Linked DNA regions of Homo sapiens: regions 1, 2, 3 and 4 are each linked to region 5. Evidence: promoter capture Hi-C in 16 types of primary human blood cells and fetal thymus (Javierre and others, 2016). All regions are on one chromosome and are shown on one strand. Each heading gives the region's core, a stretch centred on a gene start or on the middle of the fragment in contact. The rest is flanking DNA. Distances are from core to core; before and after follow the strand shown.

Region 1 (3,906 bases), core at 41-2,540, 190 kb after region 5:
GACATGTTAAAAACCATGTTCCTACCATGGGTGACACACATTTAGGTTAACTTCAGCTGGCACTTGTAGAATGGACTACTGCTATAGCTAGGACAGCTCTGTCCTTAAGAATCTCATAGAAGTAAGTAACTCCTCCTAGACACACTGAATGTACCTAACCAAAGAATTTCCAGCCAGGCACTGGTGGCTCACACCTGTAATCCCAGTACTTTTGGAGACCAAGATGGGAGGATTGCTTGTGGCCAGGAGTTCGAGGTTATAGAGAGCTATGATCGCACCATGGCACTCCAGCTTGGGCAATAGAGTGAGGCCCCATTTTTTCCAAAAATTTCTAAAAAATTAGCCAGGTGTGGTGGTCTGCACCTGCAATCCCAGCTACTTTGGAGGCTGAGGCAGGAGAATACCTTGAGCCCAGGAGTTCGAGGGTTCAATGAGCTATTATTGTACCACTGCACACCAACCTAAGTGACAGAACGAGACCCTGTCTCTAAAAACCCTGTCAACACAACAATATGGCAAATATTATGTTTGTAAAGTATTAGTACTGTGCTGAGACACAGTGAATGTTCAATACACATTATATCTAGAGAGAGAGACAAGAACAGACAGATGCATGAAACAGAGATCAAAACCAACAGACATAAACTGTCCAAGACAGAGGCCATCTATGACGTATAATCATGTATTAGTAGATTATACTTGCAGAACTAAGGCAACCAAAAAAATAAAATCAATTCAGATTAGAAACTCCAATCTGAATACTAATTGGTTTAAAATGTAAAGCAATTCTATAAGCTATTAAGAGTTATTTGGGTTTTCCCCCTCTGAATATTTAAATAGCTAAGTCAGCTTTGACATGTAGGACCTACGTTGTGTTAACAGTGCTAGAGGTACTATATTTAAATAAGAAATGAAGTGAAAATCACATGTCAAGTAATTACTGCTGACTGAAAATATAAACTTGCTAAACTCTACAATGTTTATTTAATCTCATGGAATGTTGTTATTAAGATTATAAATCGTGTGAAATAAATTAATAAATACCAAGTAGATTCCAACTCAAGTTGAGAAGTGTCAAGATTTATTGGTCTTTCAGGTAAACAATGATTGAGAACCTAAAGTCAATATTTAGTCAAAATTTATCTTGAAAGGCAATAAATCTTGATTTTTGCTAAAGCACGTAAGTAAATATGTACACCATTTTAGAGAATCTGACTGCTTTCTATGAAATATCTACCCCAAAAGTTGTAAGTATAATGATCTGTAATACAGATTTTCACTTCCGAAGACATGACTTGAGTTGTTGAGTTACTTTTAATTTTTCTTAGGATAAGATGCTTCAATAGTGCTTTTATTGGTGTAAGATAAGTTTAATATTAATAATAAAATCTTACAAATTCAGCTTCTAGTATATTGAAATCAGTCTAAACTTAGTATTTTTTTCATCCTGTTTTTTTCCTAACAGTCTATGACTAGACTTTCTCATTTACTTCTATGTTCTTTCCCCAAAGTCTTTCAAGAAAATGGTAAGCAATTTAAAAATAAAAATAAATAAATAAGAACTAAGCAAATGGATAAACACATTATAAGCAAACACCTTATGTAAGACAGGCTTACTATAAGCCAGGCACTGTCATAACTACTTTACATACACACAAACGAACATATGTAAATACATGTGTATGTCTCTGTTCATTTAATCCTCATACCAATTCTATGAGGTAGGTATTATGCCCATTTTACAGAATAAGAAACTGAGGCAGAAGATGAAAAAGTAATTCTGTCCACTGTTGTACAGCTGCTTAAAAGGCAGAGCCTAATAAAAGTGGCAATGTGGCATTTTCAGGTAGTTATCTCCTTTTGTAAGACATTAGAAAAACTGTCCCCTGCAGATGACAAAACAAGGACAAAAACTATGAATCAATTTACATAAAAGAACATAATTTAGCTCATCAATGAATATAGCCTGGGACATCACAGGCATTAGCATCACCTCTGAAGATGAAGGGTGAGGGGAAGAAGAATACAAATCTATAAAGTAAACAGCAGAAGATAAGAGATGAGGAAAGGAGGAAGCAATCACTATTGTGGAGATCGAGGAAGGCTGTGTCGACACAGGGGCATTTGAGCTGGGTCTTGAAGAAGAGAAGAGATTTTGGAAAAGGAACGTTCATTCATAAAGGCTCAAGTCAGAAAAATGGAAGCACCTTTGGAAACACTGGATATTCTAGTTGTCTGAGGCTCATTGTAAATAGAGGAGTATGAAGAAAAGAGCTTGGAATGATAAAGTGAAGCTAGAACATAAGAATCCTGAGTGCTCAGAGTGAGAAGTCCTAATTAATAAGATATAGCACTTTGGGAGGCTAAGGCAGGCAGATCACGAGGTCAGGAGTTTGAGACCAGCCTGGCCAACATGGTGAAACCCCATCTATACTACAAATACACACAAAAAAAAATTAGCCGGGCGTGGTGGTGGGTGCCTGTAGTCCCAGCTGCTTGGGAGGCTGAGGCAGGAGAATCACCTGAACCCAGGAGGCGGAGGTTGCAGTGAGCCAAGATTGAACCATTGCACTCCAGCTTGGGCAACGGTATGAGACTCCATCTCAAAAAAAATAAAAAAAGATATAGGAACAACCAGAGTTTGAAGCAGAGTAGCAAAGTAAACTTAAAAAAAAAATTTTTTTTTTTAAATTTTGGAGACAAGGTTTTACTCTGTCACCCAGCCTGGAGTACAGTAGTACAATCATGGCTCATTGCAGCCTCAACCCCCTGGGCTCAAGTGATCCTCCCACCTCAGCCTCCTGGGTATCAAAGGTTACAGGTGCATGCCACCACACCTGGCTGATTAAAATTTTTTTTTTTTTTTTTTTTTTTTTTTTGCAGAGACCCAGGGGTCTTGCTATGTTGTGCAAGGCTGGTGTTGAACTCCTTTCCTTAAGCTATCCTCCCGCCCTGGCCTCCCAAAGTGCTGGAATTACAGGCATGAGCTACCATGCCCAGCTGCAATGTACGCTTTGAAAAGATTAATTAGCAAGAAAAGCTGGAAGGGGAGGGAACTAGTTGATAAGTTACTGCACCAGTTTGACTTGATTAGGTGGTGGTCTTGGAAACAGGAAGAAAGAAAGAGAAGGAGATAGCATGGGGACAAAATGCAGATGATCTGGCAACTGACAGACGTTGGGGGCATGCAAAGGGACTGTTAAAGATGCTCATGATGTTTCAAGCCTGTGACTCATGTGAGAAATCCATCAATTAGAAGGAGCAGGTGGTTTGGGGGAGAAAATGCTATTTGAAGCATTTAATCCAAAAAACATAGTTCAAAAAATTTGAGCTACCAGATCTACTGATGCTTAAAGCTCAGGTGATTAAGAATAATCCCCCTTATTGTAAAAATCAGTTTGAATTGTATATTCTGTTAGTTGCTACTGAAAGCATTTGATATACTTGATATCAAATGATGGTTGGTGAAGGTCCTATTTTTATAACCTACTACTTTCACTTAAATTTACGTAAGATGCAGAGGTCTTAGATTATAAAACATTATGTGGTGGCTGGGCGCGGTGGCTCACGCCTGTAATCCCAGCACTTTGGGAGGCCGAGGCGGGTGGATCATTAGATCAGGAGTTCAAGACCAGCCTGGCCAACATGGCAAAACTTTGTCTCTACTAAAAATACTAAAAATTAGTTGGGTGTGGTGGCAGGAGCCTGTAATCTCAGCTGTTTGGGAGGCTGAGGCAGGAGAATTGCTTGAACCCAGGAGACGGAGGTTGCAGTGAGCCAAGAATGTGCCATTGCACTCCAGCCTAGGTGACAGAGCGAGACTCTGTCTCAAAAAACAAAACAAAAAAAAAGTATGTGGTATGAAATAATCAACATCTATTTCAGCAGAAGACATTAATTAATTTA
Region 2 (4,211 bases), core at 1,661-4,160, 220 kb after region 5:
ATAATAAAGTTCTTATCAATTCCAACCTGGTCCTCCTTCATTCTTTACACAGGCATTTTTCTCAGTCCACCTCACCTGCCTTCCACTCCATCTTCATGAGGGCCTTCAATCACAAAACTCTTCCACCTTACCCCTTACAACCTCTTCCCTGTTTCACTGGACTCCTAGCTTCTCAAGATCCTGTGGTCAGTAGCTAAAACTCATTTTCTCTTACTTCTCCGATTTAATCACCAATTCTGGATCACACCATCATCTATATTCTCTATTTAAATCTAGCTTTCTTGAGCAAGAGATAGAAATGCTAACCCCAGCAAATACAAATTCATATTGCTCACCTTCTATCATATCTTTAATCCTGATAATCTATTCTTTTATTCACTTCAGTGGGTCTGAAACACAATCCCCAGAACAGTATTTCCATACCATCTTCACTTTCCTCAAACACCTAATTCCACGGTCTCTTTCTCTGTGCACTGTAGGGAGCTCTTGTATATATAAGATGCTTGGCTTCACTTCAACATCATACTAACCCATGTCCTGTAGAAGTGCCACAGAGCCCAGTGGTTAAGGCCACAGTTGCTGGAGCAACCAGCCTAGGTTCAACTCCCAATTCTGCCCTTACTGCCTACGTGACCGCTGACAAATTATTTAACCTGAGTCTCAGTTTCCTCATCTTTAAAGTGGGGCTATCATAGTAGTATGTACCTCACTGTACTGTTGTGAGGAAGAAATAAGTAGCTCTTAGGACAATGCCTGACACTATGTAAGTGTTCAACAGATGTTTTCTGTTTCAGCCTTTTAGTATCAAAAGAAGAAACATTTTGCTTCCTTGCTATAGCAGACCCTTCCACCTCTACTCTGTTAACAAATTCCTTCCTACTTCTCTAGAATCCATTCCTCTATAATATGTTGCAATTCTCTCTCTACTAACCTCCTTTTCTCCATCTTCCAATATCCCAAGGTTTACTGTGTCTATTAAAAAATTATTTGCTTGACCTACCCCCTTATGGCTGAACCCGTCTTCTTCCTTCAGATTCCATGTGCTTACAACGCCTCTTCTTCCTGGTCCACATGACCTGGCCTCTGGCTATTGCTCTGGCCTCATCTCATATCATCTTATAACCCTTGTCTCGCTCCAGCCACAATCCTCTCTTATGTTCCTTGAACAAGCCAAGCACATTCTAGCTCCGAGGCCTCTGAGTTGCCATGTTCTCTGTCTGGGGCTTCTCTCCCCAGCTCCAATACCTTATTTGCCTCTCTCAATTTTTCACCTCAAAAGTGCTGTCCTCAGTGAAGCCATCCCTTAAACACTCAGGTTAAAGAGCCCCTCAATCGTTCTCCATCACACCTCTTGCTTTATTTCCTTCAAAGAACTCTCTCCTCCTGAGAACAGGAACCTTGATATCTCTCTCCTTCCTGAATACCAGAGGCTAGCTCCATAAATATTGTTGACTGTATCAGCAAAGGACTTTGCTACAATCTGTGGAGATACCAAACCAATCAGACACAGATCGTGTCAACAGAGTTTATAGCCCATAGTGGAGAAAAGATGGGCCCCAAAGTATCTGCAATATGCAGCATAAAGTACTCAGAGCCTTCTAACACGCAAGAGAAGAAAGAGAGGGCTTTTGCCTGGGAAGTTCTTAAAAGTCTTGAGAAGGAGGTGGTATCTGAGGTAGACTTTGAAGACAGGATAGAATTGATATTCAGAGACGGCAGGAAGGGGTAAAGAGCATTCCAGATGGTGGGCCTTCACTTAGATTTTCCCTTTCCTTCATCCATTATCCTCCATCTATCCCCAATTACAGCCTTTCTTTTCCTTTTCACAAGTCCCACTTTCTCTTTATTGCCACTATCACACTAATCTGAGTCCTCAACACTAATCTGAGTCCTCATCACACATCATGACGCCTGGCAGACCTTCTGATTGGTTTCCATCCCTTAGTTCTTTCCACCTACCAATCATTCCATGCACTGTTGGGGCCTGAGGAGACCCACTGAAGAGCCTTCCTTTTCCTCACCCAACTTTTGAACCAATTGAGATAGACAGAGGGTGGTCAGATACATGGGGATCAAAACATCAGACAGTTGGAGGATGCAACTTAGTTGCGTAGCAGCAAATTGAACCCCAGGATTTCAGAGACTTACCTCTGAGTCACAAGCATCACTGGATAGCCAGAGGCCTCCCCTCCTGGGAAACTGCCCATGAAGGGCTGATGGCATGGAGGAGCAGATCTGGGGGAGCGGACCAGAATTAGTGCTCTTAGGACAGCAGCTGAATTACCTGGTTCCTCTCCTAAACTTGCCAATAAGTCACTCCTCCTTCTCATGGGTGGGGTGTGCAAAGGGATGGACGGAGGCCAAGAGTGCTATTCCAGCTGACGTCCCTTTACATGGACACATAAAGCCACTGAAAAGGAGGGTCCCTGCTACCCTATCACCACTTTCACCCCACCAACTTCCATATTTCTTATTAAATACCCTTTTAATCTTGAGTCTCAAGACATGTGTGGTTGCTTCTTGCCAAATATATCACAGTAAGTCTATTCATATGGCTTTGAAGGTCCTCCAAAGTCTCAGCTCACTACTCCAAAATGTACCCCTGTTCTAGGTTAGCCTCCTGACCATCTCATACATACGCTGTGTTCTTTCCACCTTGACTTTGTGCTCAATCCTCAAAGCTCAGCTGAAATAGCCTTTCCTCAATGAAGACTCCTCTGGCATTCTGAGTCACAATCATCACTCTTTTCTTTGCATTCCTGGTTAATAAAATACAGTTTTCCAAGTCAATTTGTTTCATATTATAGTACTCGACTATGTTCAAGCCAGAAACAAACGGAAAAAATGAACTAATTTTAGGTCTTTGTTCTCCTCATTACAGGCACATCGGGGCACACTAATCATGACACTGCCACACATGTCCATAGCAAAGAACATGAAGAGAGTGATACTACAGGAATCAAAGCTGGACTGTGTCTTGCACATATTTAATATGCTCCACAGGCCCTCGTACAGTGTTGGCCAGTGGAGTACACAGATGGTATTCCACAGATATTTTTATTAACAAATTTGTTCTGGTAGAAATGAACTAGTCTTTTCTATGGCTACTTTGGAGACTTTCTTTTTGGGTAAAAAGAGGATATTCCATTCATTTTCCCTTCATAAACCTAGGAAAAAGATTACCTATGTCAGCTCTAGTGGAAACAGACCTGTAACATATCTGGCTACATATTAACATTAACTAGATATACCAGTTTAGGGATCTCTTCCATCCAGTTCTTTGCTATGGGCAACAGTGATAGAGCATAAGTCAATACATTCCTGGCCAATTTTTCTCAAGTGTGAACCTGACTAGGAGATCACAGATCCAACTTTTTAAAAGCAGAGATTTTCTGTCTTCTGTGATGAGGGCAAGCCTTAGCCTCTGTTGAGGTTTTGGACCCAGGAAACAATTCCAAACATCACCTTTCAAACCATGCTTATTCTTTGCCATGGTGAGCTTTTGGCTCTATATATCTAATCTATAGGAATTAAATATAAAAGACCCTCCCATACTTAGGCTGCTGGATTTTAGGCATAAATGGCATTCCATTACAATTTCTTGATGCAGCCTACAGAATTATAGAGACTTAGAGCTGGAAGAGATCCTAGAAATCCCACTAGCACATCCACATGTAAGGCAAAACCTATCAGCTGCCTTCATTAACAGAACCCTAATTTTGTTCAGGTATGGGGGCAATATGCTCAGGAAAGATGGCCTCTCCCCTGCCCTGTAAAAAGAATAATAATTTGTTTAATCCAATCACAGTAATCCTATTTTCCTTTGCCAGAGATTGCCTTAGGGGTGGACATGTGACCCAGTTCTGGCCAAGGAGCGGGTGCTATTGGGAGCCTCTGGAAAAAAAGACCCAGAAGAGATGCCCTGCTCTCTCTCTTCCTGGTTTTTACTGTTGGTATTTAAGAAAATGATCCTAACACATTTGGGAAGTTAGGAAAATGTTTTTTAAAATGATCCTTGGGGCAGCTGTAGCCACTTTGTACCAATGATGGGAGAGAAGAGAAATCACCAATATACCAAGGAAAACAAAGCAAAAAGATGGAAAGCCTGTAGGTCCTGGATGACCCCAAGACCACCTACCCCTGGGTATCCTGTGAAGTGTTTATTGCATAAGTCCTCGACATTCACTAAGTGCTCAATAGTTATCTGTCAG
Region 3 (3,654 bases), core at 697-3,196, 240 kb after region 5:
TTTAAAGCATTTTTCAGTACATCTCTGCACATGTTTATTGTTTGCCACCTGCAAAATCATTGAGACATTTGCTGCCTCAGAAACCTAACTAAATATAAGCATGGCACTTTAAATCTCAGATTGCTTTGCGACTGAAGGCAGCAGTGTTACTGCACCTTTATGTGAAATTGGAAAACCAAAATGGCCCATTTTCATAAAACCACCAGAGATCCAATATGTCTTGCTCTTAGAAACAAAGCAGGAAGACACAAACTTCAGTTACGAAATGTCTAAAAATGCAGACTTGATGTTTTCCATCTCCCTTTGCCTCCATGGCAGAGAACACTGACTAGAAAACAAACAAAAGAACCACTTGAATTAGCTTTATCTTGGGACTGAGAGGAAGAAGGCAAAAACTTCCATGATAAAAACTTTATCAGCCTCCAACTGCAACAGGAGTCACAGGTGAGGTGCAAGTAGGTTCCATCAGGGCCAAGCCAGCTAGTGTGGCTGACTGCAACAGTGAATGTAACAAGGAAGTACAGTGAGACCAAATATGCAAGATACCCAGAAAGGGCTGGGGAAGTAGACTTAAAGATGTCATCAGTTTATATAACTATTTAGAATCTTCTACTTGAGCCTGAGTAATAGAGGCTGTGTTTCTAAATTCAATACAGGACTGTGTTTATCTAATTATCTCACAAAACTAAAACTGAGTTAATCTCAGGAAAAAATCACTTGGTTTTTACAGAAAATAATCATTTTTCACATGCATGGTTTAGAATAAAGTTTAAAGTGCTTGATAACAAATGGCCAATACATATATGAAAAAATGCTCAACATCACTAATGATCAGGGAAATGCAAACCAAAACCACAATGTGATACCACCTTACTCCTGCAAGAATGGCCATAATCAAAAAAAAAAAAAAAAAAACAAAATAGATGTTGGCGTGGATGTGGTGAAAAGGGAACACTTCTACACTGCTGGTGGGAATGTAAGATAGTACAGCCACCATGGAAAATAGTGTGGCGATTCCTTTAAGAACTAAAAGTAGAACTACCATTTGACCCAGCAATCCCACTACTAGGTATCTACCCAAAGGAAAAGAAGTCATTATACGAAAAAGACACTTGCACATGCATGTTTATCGTAGCACAATTTGCAGCTGCGAAAATGTGGAACCAACCCAAATGCTCATCAATCAACGAATAGAAAGAAACTGTGAGATATATATATCTATACATCATATAGATATATATGATGCACTACTACTCAGCCATAAAAAGGAATCAATTAATGGCATTTACAGCAACCTGGATGGGATTGGAGACTACTATTCTAAGTGAAGTAACTCAGGAATGAAAAACCAAACATCGTATGTTCTCACTCACAAATGGGAGCTAAGCTATGAGGATTCAAAGGCATAAGAATGAGAAAATAGACTTTGGGGACTTAGGGGGACAGGGTGGGGAGGGGGTGAGGAATAAAAGACTACAAATCGGGTTCAGTGTATACTGCCTGGGGGATGGTTGCACCAAAATCTCACAAGTCACCACTAAAGAACTTAGTAACTAAATACCTCCTGTTCCCCACAAACCTATGGAATAAAAAAAATTTTTAAGTGCTCTGATAAACTTTTTTTTTTTTTTTTTTTTTTTTTTTTTGAGACGGAGCTTCACTCTTGTTGCCCAGGCTAGAGTGCAATGGTGTGATCTCGGCTCACGGCAACCTCTGCCTCCTAGGTTCAAGTGACTCTCCTGCTCAGCCTCCTGAGTAACTGGGATTACAGGTGTCCGCCACCAGGCCTGGCTAATCTTTTGTATTTTTAGTAGAGATGGGGTTTCATCATATTGGCCAGGCTGGTCTCGAACTCTGATAAACTTCTTTATTTTATTTATTTATTGTTTTTGAGACGGAGTCTCGCTCTGTCGCCCAGGCTGGAGTCCAGTGGCACGATCTCAGCTCACTGCAAACTCTGCCTCCCGGGTTCACACCATTCTCCTGCCTCAGCCTCCCGAGTAGCTGGGACTACAGGTGCCCGCCACCACGCCCGGCTAATTTTTTTGTATTTTTTAGTAGAGACGGGGTTTCACCGTGTTAGCCAGGATGGTTTCCATCTCCTGAGCTCATGATCCGCCTGCCTGATAAACTTCTTAATAAATACTTGTAGTAACCTCAAAAAAGAGAGGTGAGTAAAGTAATGGGACTATTTTAAAGATGATGAAAGAGAACCCATGATTCATTTATTGTCAATTGTAGTTCCCAAAGAAAAGAAAACGAAGTTCCTCAAATCCTTGTCTAATTACTGAGTACTTTGGGCCACCCAAGTTCAATTACCTTTTAAATCACCTTAAATCATACAGGGGCCCTGATGTTAGTAGAAGGACCATAAACAAGGAGTGAGTAGGCTGAATCCAACCCCTCAGCCACTCAGACTAAGTATTGAGTTTGTTCAGTGTGAGAGAAGTGTGGCAATGGGAAGAACATAAATTTATGACACCAGGAAAGGGTCATGTCCCCACACTGCCTTCTGAGCTAACTGACATCCAGCAAGTCAGGCTGACTCAGGGCCTCTGTGCCCTTCTTATCTGCAAATGGAAGTCCTGCCAATGCCTGCTCCCATCTACCTGAGAAAGCAGAGAAGCACAAATGTGGACAAAGTATGTGAAAGTTCTTTACAAACTCTAAAACAATTACTACTTCTATTAGAAGTTAGCTGATTTCTAATCACATAACCATTTATCCTCAACAAGCATTTATAGAGGACGGACCAAGTACCCAAACACTATGTGAGATATTAGACACAAAACACAGCTCCTGCTCTTGAAGAGCTAAATAGCTAGTGGAAAGTAAGACACAAAACCAAATATAAAAAGCACTTCAACAGAAGTATACAAAGGTGTTATACAAGCATAAATAAGGAATCATTACTAATTAAGGGACAATAAAGAATTTTAAGTAACAGAACACAATTAAATGACAATGATAGGTATACAGAGATTACTTCAGTCGAAAGAAATCAAAAACAAAGGAAACAAAAACATACAACAAAACCAATCATTCCTGCTCCAGCAATCATGCTGTGGGCCAGGCATGGTGGCTCATGCCTATAATCCCAGCACTTTGGGAGGTCGAGGCAGGCAGATCACGAGGTCAGGAGTTTGAGATCAGCCTGGCCAACATAGCGAAACCCCATCTCTACTAAAAATATAAAAATTAGCCAGGCATGGTGGCGCGTGCCTGTAGTCCCAGTTACTGAGGAGGCTGAGGCAGGAGAATTGCTTAAACCCAGGAGGCGGAGGTTGTGGTGAGCCGAGATCACACCACTGCACTCCCGCCTGGGCAACAGAGCAAGACTCCATCTCAAAAAGAAAAAAAAAAAAAGAAATCATGCTGCTTCTTGCATGAAGCTGTCAGCCTACAATAACAGCCTCAAAGGTTCCACCAGAGAGTGAGCACTATGTGAACTAACAACCACACATGGAAGGCAAGAATGCAAAGGCCTTCTTCACAAGCTGTTCAAGTCTTTCTGACCCACAGACACATTCCTGTCCAACAGAAGGCCTTTGCTGGGTGGTGAGGATGTCATGGGAAATTAATAATTCCCTCACTTCCTGTTGACTTTAACTCTTTTGGTCATTGCAACTCACCAGCAGAAGGGAGAATACTTAA
Region 4 (3,686 bases), core at 728-3,227, 200 kb after region 5:
GATGTAATTACCAACAGCAGTCCCAAGAGGTTAAACAGCAGCCAAGGAGTAAAACCATAAAATCTGACACAGTGAAAATGGTGTAGGGGATCCCCCAGGCTCACTGTTTTTCTTGCTGTCTTTGCTGTTAACATGTTCAAATTCAGTTCAGAATTGGGAACACTGCCCTACAGTGGGCCATCCAATTTCATCTCCAGATTACAAAACAGTCATACAAGGAACACTTCCAAAGGTGAGCTTTGCATCTCTTGTCACACTCAGAAACAAGTCCTTGGGCCCTTTTATTATAGTACTCAATTGCAAGGTTTCTTGATTGCTAGGAAATTATAGGAAAAATATCTGTGTGTGCTAGTGCCAAGAAAACTATGTATCTATTAAGTGCAAATAGGTAGGTACAAATGTCAAATTCCTAAAGAAAACAGAGCTGCTTAGATAGGAGGAATAAGTTCTAGTGTTCAATAGCACTATAGGATGACTATAGTTAACAATAATACGTAGTTTCAAATACCTAGAAGGGAGATACTGAATGTTCCCAACACAAAGAAATGATAAATGTTTGAGATAATGGATATGCTAATTACCCTGATCTGATCACTATACATATGTATTGCAATATCACTATGTACCCCATAAAGATGTATATTGTGTCAATTAAAACTTTTTTTAACTAAAAAAAAAAAAAGAGCTATTGCCTTAATCTAATTTATATGGCATTTTGTGAATAACCTAATATAGAATCACATACAGGTACACACTTCATAAATATTTTAATAAGCTGTATAGTCATTTGTTTTAGCATTAATACTATAGCACCACAGATTCCCCATTGCCAAACACAATTTTAAACCTCAACCAGTAATTTCACCGAAGAAGCATGCCTCATTTGCTGCTACAGGTGTCCCCGAAAAGCTGTACCACCAAATTAACTGTTCCTACATACCATTCCCATCATGTGCTTCTCTGCTCAAGAACCTTCTGTGACTTCAGGGTCAAACATAAAATGTAATCTGAACTGTCTTTACTTTTATAGGTCAAAAATGACTGAAAAATCTGCAATTTCACATAGTTCTACCTGGCACCATCTCTGAGAGTTCTCTAACCCAATGCATGGGCGTCACATCTGTAGCAATTGTCACAGCTGCCTTTTGACATTCACTGATGTGATTATTTGATTCATGTCTTCCCTAGTGGACTGCAAATTTCATGAAGGCAAGGACCATGTCTGCTTTCCTCCAGCACTGACCCATCTAGGTGCATCCAAGTTTCTGGGCACACAATAAATGACAGAATGAATGAAACAACTAAGTTTTCAAATTTCAAGAAGTAGAACTAGCAAGTGTAAGGGTCCTAGAGGTAGGCATGATAATAGTAGGTTCCAGGAACAGCAAGAAGACCACTATAAGGCTGGGCACAGTGGCTTACGCCTGTCATCCCAGCACTTTGGGAGGCCGGGGGGCGGGGGGGCGGTGGATCATGAGGTCAGGAGTTCGAGACCAGCTTGACCAACATGGCAAAACCCCGTCTCTACTAAAAATACAAAAATTAGCCGGGCCTGGTGGCACACGCCTGTAATCCCAGCTACAAGGAAGGATGAGGCAAGAGAATCACTTGAACCCAGGAGGCGGAGGTTGCAGTGAGCCGAGATCATAACACTGCACTCCAGCCTGGGCAACAGGGCGAGACTCCGTCTCAAAAAAAAAAAAAAAAAAAGAAGACCACTATGGCTGGGGCTTCCTAAGCTCAGTGCAACCCTGGAGCTGCAGAAGAAGCCACGGAACAGTCACACATAATCAGATACAACTATCAAAAATCAAGTACACATTTAAGAAATATACCGTTATGTATCAGCATATATTTTTAAAACCATAACCTCAGGCATTTTTGCATAACCATGGTCCATTTTTTTCTGCAGGGCTGTTTAAATTTTAAAGAAGGATATAGAAAATTCTTCACTTACAGAAATAATTTAATGAAATAAGGCCAATTGCACTATTTTGTAGATTTAAAAGCCAACATTTGTGGCTCCCCTGAATAGCAAGTAAATGACATCATAACAAAGAGCTACTCCATACAATCTTCCACTTCTAAAGTTTATTCATCCAAACTATTTAAAGGGGGAAGAACTAAGTAGACATAAAAACTTATAAAGGGGCACACTAAAACCATGAAATACAGTGAATTAGCCTCTCCTTAAAATAATACGTAAAGCCAAAACTCATCAAAAACAATGTGCTGAAGTTTTTGGCATTTTGGAAGATCAACATGCTATGCCACCAGCTTTTTCACTGAAGGTGTGTTTTTATGAGGATGCAAAGTTAGAAGACATAGGTACAAAAGGAAGAAGCAGCTGGTTTAGATTAACTGTGTTTGTGAGAAACACAGATCAATTTTTAACGTTCCATCTGCTATAATAATCTCTGATATAATGAACAGTCTCCCAGGTAATTTAAAAAACATTCAGAAGTTTGCTTAACAGGTTTTGGCCTTTTTCTTTTGAGACTCTGCCCCCTACAGGAGATCAGGAAATAAAGTATTCTTACCTAGAAAACCAGAGTTCAGCCTGGCACAGGCGGTGGCTTACGCCTGTAATCCCAGCACTTTGGGAGGCTGAGGCAAGCGGATCACCTGAGGTCGGGAGTTTGAGACCAGCCTGACCAACATGGAGAAACCCTCATCTCTACTAAAAGTACAAAATTAGCCAGGCGTGGTGGCGCATGCCTGTAATCCCAGCTACTCAGGAGGCTGAGGCAGGAGAATCACTTGAACCCAGGAGGCGGAGGTTGCAGTGAGCCGAGATCATGCCATTGCACTCCAACCTGGGCAACGAGAGCGAAACTCCATCTCAAAAAAAAAGAAAAAAAAGAAAGAAAACCAGAGTTCAAGTGCTGGTATGAAAAACAACCTGGTAAACCACAAGTATCACAAAGCAACTGAATGCAGCACTTTCTGAGGGAAGAAAGGGCATATAAATGGAACAGCTTTTCTTTCTTTTCTTTTTTTTTGGAATGTGCCACACTATACAAAATAAGACTGACTTCTCCCTGTCCCAAATTAGAAACCTGTCTCTCTCTGCCCCGTTCGTTAAAACTCCGAACCAAAGCACAAAGTTAAAAGTCAAGCAGTGCAAATAAATTTTAGACTGCCTTCCTCCCCTGATTCCGTACTACTACCCTTACCCAACCTATCCTCCACAAGCCAAATTTCGTGAGCACAAAATTTAGACAGCAAAGGGAAGCATCCTATCATATGGAACCTAACTAAGGCAGCTGCCAGAAATTTCTATTCCTGCCCATTATATTATAATAATACGTTTCCTGTTCTTTTCTACTCAGCTTCCTTCTCCTTCTTTTGCTCACTTTTCTTTTTTTCCTGATTTCATTTCTCCAGCTGCCGGATGCGAATGAGCTTGCTGAATGGCACCTTCTTACCTACATTTCTCCTTCCTCTTGAGTGTCAGGAATGCTACGAATGCAGTGCAGAGCATGGGCAGTGCACACTCCATCAGAAGGCACACTTCTGAGAGGGAGGTGAATTAGGCAATACCTCTTGTGAAATACCTGAGGCTTTTCTTCCCTCTTTTACTAGAAAGTTTCTTGATTCAGCTACTCCAATCTCCACATCTTGAGAACTAAGCTGAGCTGTTCTTCCTTACTCCAATAACACAACAGATTTGCTGACCACGTCTG
Region 5 (3,887 bases), core at 1-2,500:
GGACGCGGCGGCCGCCCGGCCCACCAGCTGCGCTAGGAGCAGCAGCAACAGCGAGGGCGGCGCGGATGGGTCAGGCCGAGCCATCGCCCCCTCCCTCCCCTCGCCTCCAGCAGCCCGCGAGGGACGCACACAGGCAGAGGAATCCGGGCCGGGGCTTCTCCCTCCGGCGTCTCGTGTGTGGCGCCGGGGCTGGCAACCTGTTGGTTGCTTTTTCCTTTAAAGAAAACCGTCCAAAGATAAACTGCTTCGGGAAGGCGCTGCCTCCGCTGGCAGCGCTCCGCTCCTCGCCGGATAGGGCTGGGGAGAGACGGTTAGGGCTCGGATTCCAGGGAAAGGACTCTTTAAAAAAGAAGGGGGAGAAGAAAGATTGCAACCACTCCCTGTTGGAGAGGCGTCAACAGTTCGGTCCCCGCGAGCTGTCTCCAAATCTCTTAAGTTAACCCCTTTCCTTTCCTCCCCGCTCCGCCTCCTGTAACCAAACTACCGACTCCCCCACCCTCTCTTTCCAAGCTGGGCCCTTCAGGCAGTGCCCGGAGACCAGAACCCTCAGCTTCCCGGAAAAGGGCACAGGAAACGGGAGAAGAACAGGGAGAAAGGGAAGGTTCTCACCTCCACGGATCCCGCCGAGAAGAGCAGACAGTCCCCAGCCAGCCTGGGTCCTCCGTCCCTGGGTCACTCCGCTGAGAAGCGCGACTCAGAGCCGGGCTGGCGCCCGGAAAGTTTAGCGACAGGCTGGGTACCCGTGGCAGCGGCACATGGCAGCAGGTGGGGGCGACTCAGAGTGGGGGGCGCCCCCAGAACAGGGGCGGCGCAGGCCGGTCACTCGCCCTCTCCTCCTCGGGAGCCCCCCGCATGATCCAGACGGAGCCGGGCAGGGGCAGGCCGTGCGTTCTCCCCGGGGCCGGGAGCCGGACGGAGGGCGAGCGCGCCTGGCAGCACCTGGGCGGGAGGAAGGCGGGAGGCGGGGGCCGTGGGACCCCGCCGCCTCACAGCACCGCGAGCAGCCGGCGCTGGCCAGGCCGGGACTGCATGGTGAGCGCCGGCCGCCGCGTCCCGCCCGCCGCTCGCCTCCTCCCCTGCAGGGGGCTCCGCGCTCCAGTGGACTCCTGGGGGCGGTGGCGACGCTCTCGGGACGTGCCCTGCTCGGCTCCTCCCCCGCGCTCTCGCACCCTTTCGCCCACCTCTGGCGAGCACGGAACCGCGCGCGGCGGCGACCACAGCGGACTCACGGCCGCAGGCTGGCTGCCCTCTCCCGCCCCGCCCGGGTCACCTGCTTCTAATGCCCGCCGGGAAGCCCCGCCCCGGCTCCGCCCCCTCAGGCCCGGGCGCGGTTGGTGGGCCGCCTCGCCAAGCTCTCCGCGCGTCCCCGCCCACTGCCCCGCGGGCTCGGCCTTTCCCCCGGCGCCCTCTGGCCCCGCCAGGAGCGGGCAGCCAAGGAGCGCTGACCAATCGCGGGCCTGGAGGAGATGGGGGCGGGGCGAATGCTAATCATGCCGCTCTGGGCACCCGGGCGGGAAGCCCTTGCCAGAAGTCCCTCCGGAGTTCTCTGCCCGCGCCCTGGGTGCAGGACTCGCTCCTGTAACTTCCTGGCTTATGCACCTTTGCTCCCAGGGCCCCTGCCCTTTCTGCCTGCAGCTAAGCGTCCTTACAGAGTTCAGTGCTTCTTTGAAAGAACTGCTCAAGGAATCACTCTTAGGCGTGGCTGTCTCCCTTCCGAGCTGTCTTGGAACTGTGTGAAAGAAGAGAGGATACTTACTGAGCCCTTTACTGTGTGCCCAACAAAGTGTTAATCGGTTACATCCTTTTTTTTTTTTTTTTTTTTTGAGACGAGTTGTTCTGTCTCCCAGGCTGGAGTGCAGTGGCGCGATCTCGGCTCACTGCAACCTCTGTCTCCCGGGTTCAAGCGATTATCCTGCCTCAGCCTCCTGCGTAGCTGGGATTACTGGCGCCCGCCACCACGCCCAGCTAATTTTTGTATTTTTGGTAGAGACGGGCTTTCACCATGTAAGGCTGTTCTCGAACTCCTGACACCGTGATCTGCCCGCCTCGGCCTCCCAAAATGCTGGGATTACAGGTGTGAGCCACCGCGCCCGGCCCGTTTACATCTTAAGACAAGATCTCACTCCTTACAACAATTCTGAGGCAGGTACTTCCTACAGGTGAAGAAACCGAGACTGAGACTTGGCCAAGGCAACCGAGCTAATCATAGTTCCCCCAAGAAAGGGCGACCTCGGCAAGCAAGTTCACCTCCGTATTCCGATCACCTGGCACATAGTAGCCGCCCAAATGGCAACCCTGGGATTCGAACCCAGGTAGTTGGTCAGCGGCACTCACCATCGTAGCCGCCCCTCCCCCCATACTATCGCAGCCTCCCTGGCTTCGACCTTTACTTTTGCATCTCTTAACAAAATCTTGTTGTGACAAGAAAATGGATTTCTTTCTGCCTTTAGAAGACCCAGAAAGATGTGAGTCCTTTATTGGTCGAGGTTTATAATCCCAGGCAGTTCCGAAGTCGCCCGCAGAGAGAAGCGATACCGACCCAGGGTTCTGTGCTGGGCAGGGCGCCGGCCTCCCCGTGCCCTTCCGTCCCCGGCTGCCTGCTGCTAAGCCGCGCACTTGCGCGCCGCGGGGGGTCGGAGGGCGCACCGATGGCGGGGACACGGCGGCGCTCTTCAGTTGCGCAATTATGCTACAAGTTTTAAATGTCCTAAAAATGCCTCTTTTCTATGTGTTGTAATTAGATTGGAAGACTGAGGTATTTAGCATACTTGAAATACATTCACACGCCTAGGAAGAGGGTTTAAATTTTTTCCTTCTCCCCAAACTTTTCCTTCCACTGGGCAAAGGGCGAAAATAGGCAAGAGGGCCTGGGGACACTTGAAGGGATAGGGACTGGACTAACTGGACTAGATCCAGATCAACCGCGGGTTACTGTCCATCTCCTGTGCTGGATCCCATTGGCACAGGTTGGAAGAATAAATTGCGGAAGTGCCACTCCCCTCCTGCGTATCAACAACGCTTTGTGGGCAATAATGAAGAACACGTGTGTTAATCCCAGCCTCCAAGTTAAAAAGGAACAAATATCAATCACTTCGCGGATATCAAAACTATTAATAAACGTTTAAAAGGCCGGGCGCCATAGCTCACGCCTGTAATCCTAACACTTTGGGAGGCTGAGGTGGGAGGATGGCTTGAACCCAGGAGTTTGCAGACCAGCCTGAGCAACATAGCAAGACCCCCAACTCTAAAATACATAATTAAATAAATGAATAAATATACCTTACATCTTTCTTTCTCTGGAATTCTACAGGTGTTCATATTTTATCTCTTGTGTTTTGGAATTACTTGCCACTCTGGGTCAGGAAGCATCCCAGGGTTGAAAATAGTGGGAGTTGAAAAGCTGTGGGCATAGCAGTGAGCAAGAAAGGGAAGCCCTCAGTGGAAAGTATGTGCAGACTATGAACATGCCAAGGGAGGCCCATCTCATTCTGTGCTCTTTATGCAACGTGTGTATTACTGGGGATGGACAAGTGTTGGCTAATAATAAAAATTATTTGAAGTTGGAGAATGTTAATCACTCACACTGGAATTTAGCCAGAATATTTGTGTTATTTCACACGGTTCTGTCAGAGGCATTTGAACCAGAGCGACTCCATCTTGGATAGGGACTGGGTAAAATAAGGCTGAGACCTACTGGGCTGCATTCCCAGGAGGTGAAGACATTCTAAGTCAACAGGGTGAGATAGGAGGTCAGCACAAGATACAGGCCATAAAGACCTTGCTGATAAAACAGGGCGCAGTAAAGAAGCCGGCAAAAACCCAGCAAAACCAAGATGGCCAGGAGAGTGACCTCTGGTCGTCCTCACTGCTTATTGTAACTTAATTAT

What was found. The method cuts DNA at HindIII sites, captures the fragments that hold promoters and counts their contacts. A CHiCAGO score of 5 or more calls a contact.
Region 1: a fragment that was not itself captured here is called in contact with the fragment with the promoter of FZD5 in region 5 in 5 of 17 cell types (megakaryocytes, M2 macrophages, M0 macrophages and 2 more); the score reaches 10.8 in megakaryocytes.
Region 2: a fragment that was not itself captured here is called in contact with the fragment with the promoter of FZD5 in region 5 in 6 of 17 cell types (megakaryocytes, endothelial precursors, M0 macrophages and 3 more); the score reaches 8.0 in megakaryocytes.
Region 3: a fragment that was not itself captured here is called in contact with the fragment with the promoter of FZD5 in region 5 in 7 of 17 cell types (M0 macrophages, M2 macrophages, megakaryocytes and 4 more); the score reaches 10.5 in M0 macrophages.
Region 4: a contact is called between a fragment that was not itself captured here and the fragment with the promoter of FZD5 in region 5, in 6 of 17 cell types (megakaryocytes, endothelial precursors, M0 macrophages and 3 more). The highest score is 17.8, in megakaryocytes.

Annotation. Positions count from the first base shown.
Region 1 is chr2:207,953,868-207,957,773 of GRCh38, forward strand. The region is part of intron 3 of PLEKHM3 (pleckstrin homology domain containing M3); the gene reads right to left. Among named protein-coding and RNA genes, the nearest start is that of PLEKHM3, 70 kb to the right of the region's middle. The HindIII fragment of the contact is 6,249 bases long and covers 1-3,906 here.
Region 2 is chr2:207,987,706-207,991,916 of GRCh38, forward strand. All of the region lies in intron 2 of PLEKHM3 (pleckstrin homology domain containing M3), which reads right to left. Among named protein-coding and RNA genes, the nearest start is that of PLEKHM3, 36 kb to the right of the region's middle. The HindIII fragment of the contact is 8,087 bases long and covers 1-4,211 here.
Region 3 is chr2:208,010,169-208,013,822 of GRCh38, forward strand. All of the region lies in intron 1 of PLEKHM3 (pleckstrin homology domain containing M3), which reads right to left. Among named protein-coding and RNA genes, the nearest start is that of PLEKHM3, 14 kb to the right of the region's middle. The HindIII fragment of the contact is 4,421 bases long and covers 1-3,654 here.
Region 4 is chr2:207,970,896-207,974,581 of GRCh38, forward strand. The region is part of intron 3 of PLEKHM3 (pleckstrin homology domain containing M3); the gene reads right to left. Among named protein-coding and RNA genes, the nearest start is that of PLEKHM3, 53 kb to the right of the region's middle. RefSeq lists an enhancer at 1-163. The HindIII fragment of the contact is 5,414 bases long and covers 1-3,686 here.
Region 5 is chr2:207,768,656-207,772,542 of GRCh38, forward strand. FZD5 (frizzled class receptor 5) reads right to left here and starts at 1,251. Exons shown (of 2, transcript NM_003468.4): 1 at 610-1,251; 2 at 1-339. The coding sequence starts at 84. RefSeq lists silencers at 2-61, 472-531, 872-1,551, 3,608-3,887 and enhancers at 2,102-2,151, 2,316-3,136. The HindIII fragment of the contact is 9,976 bases long and covers 1-3,887 here.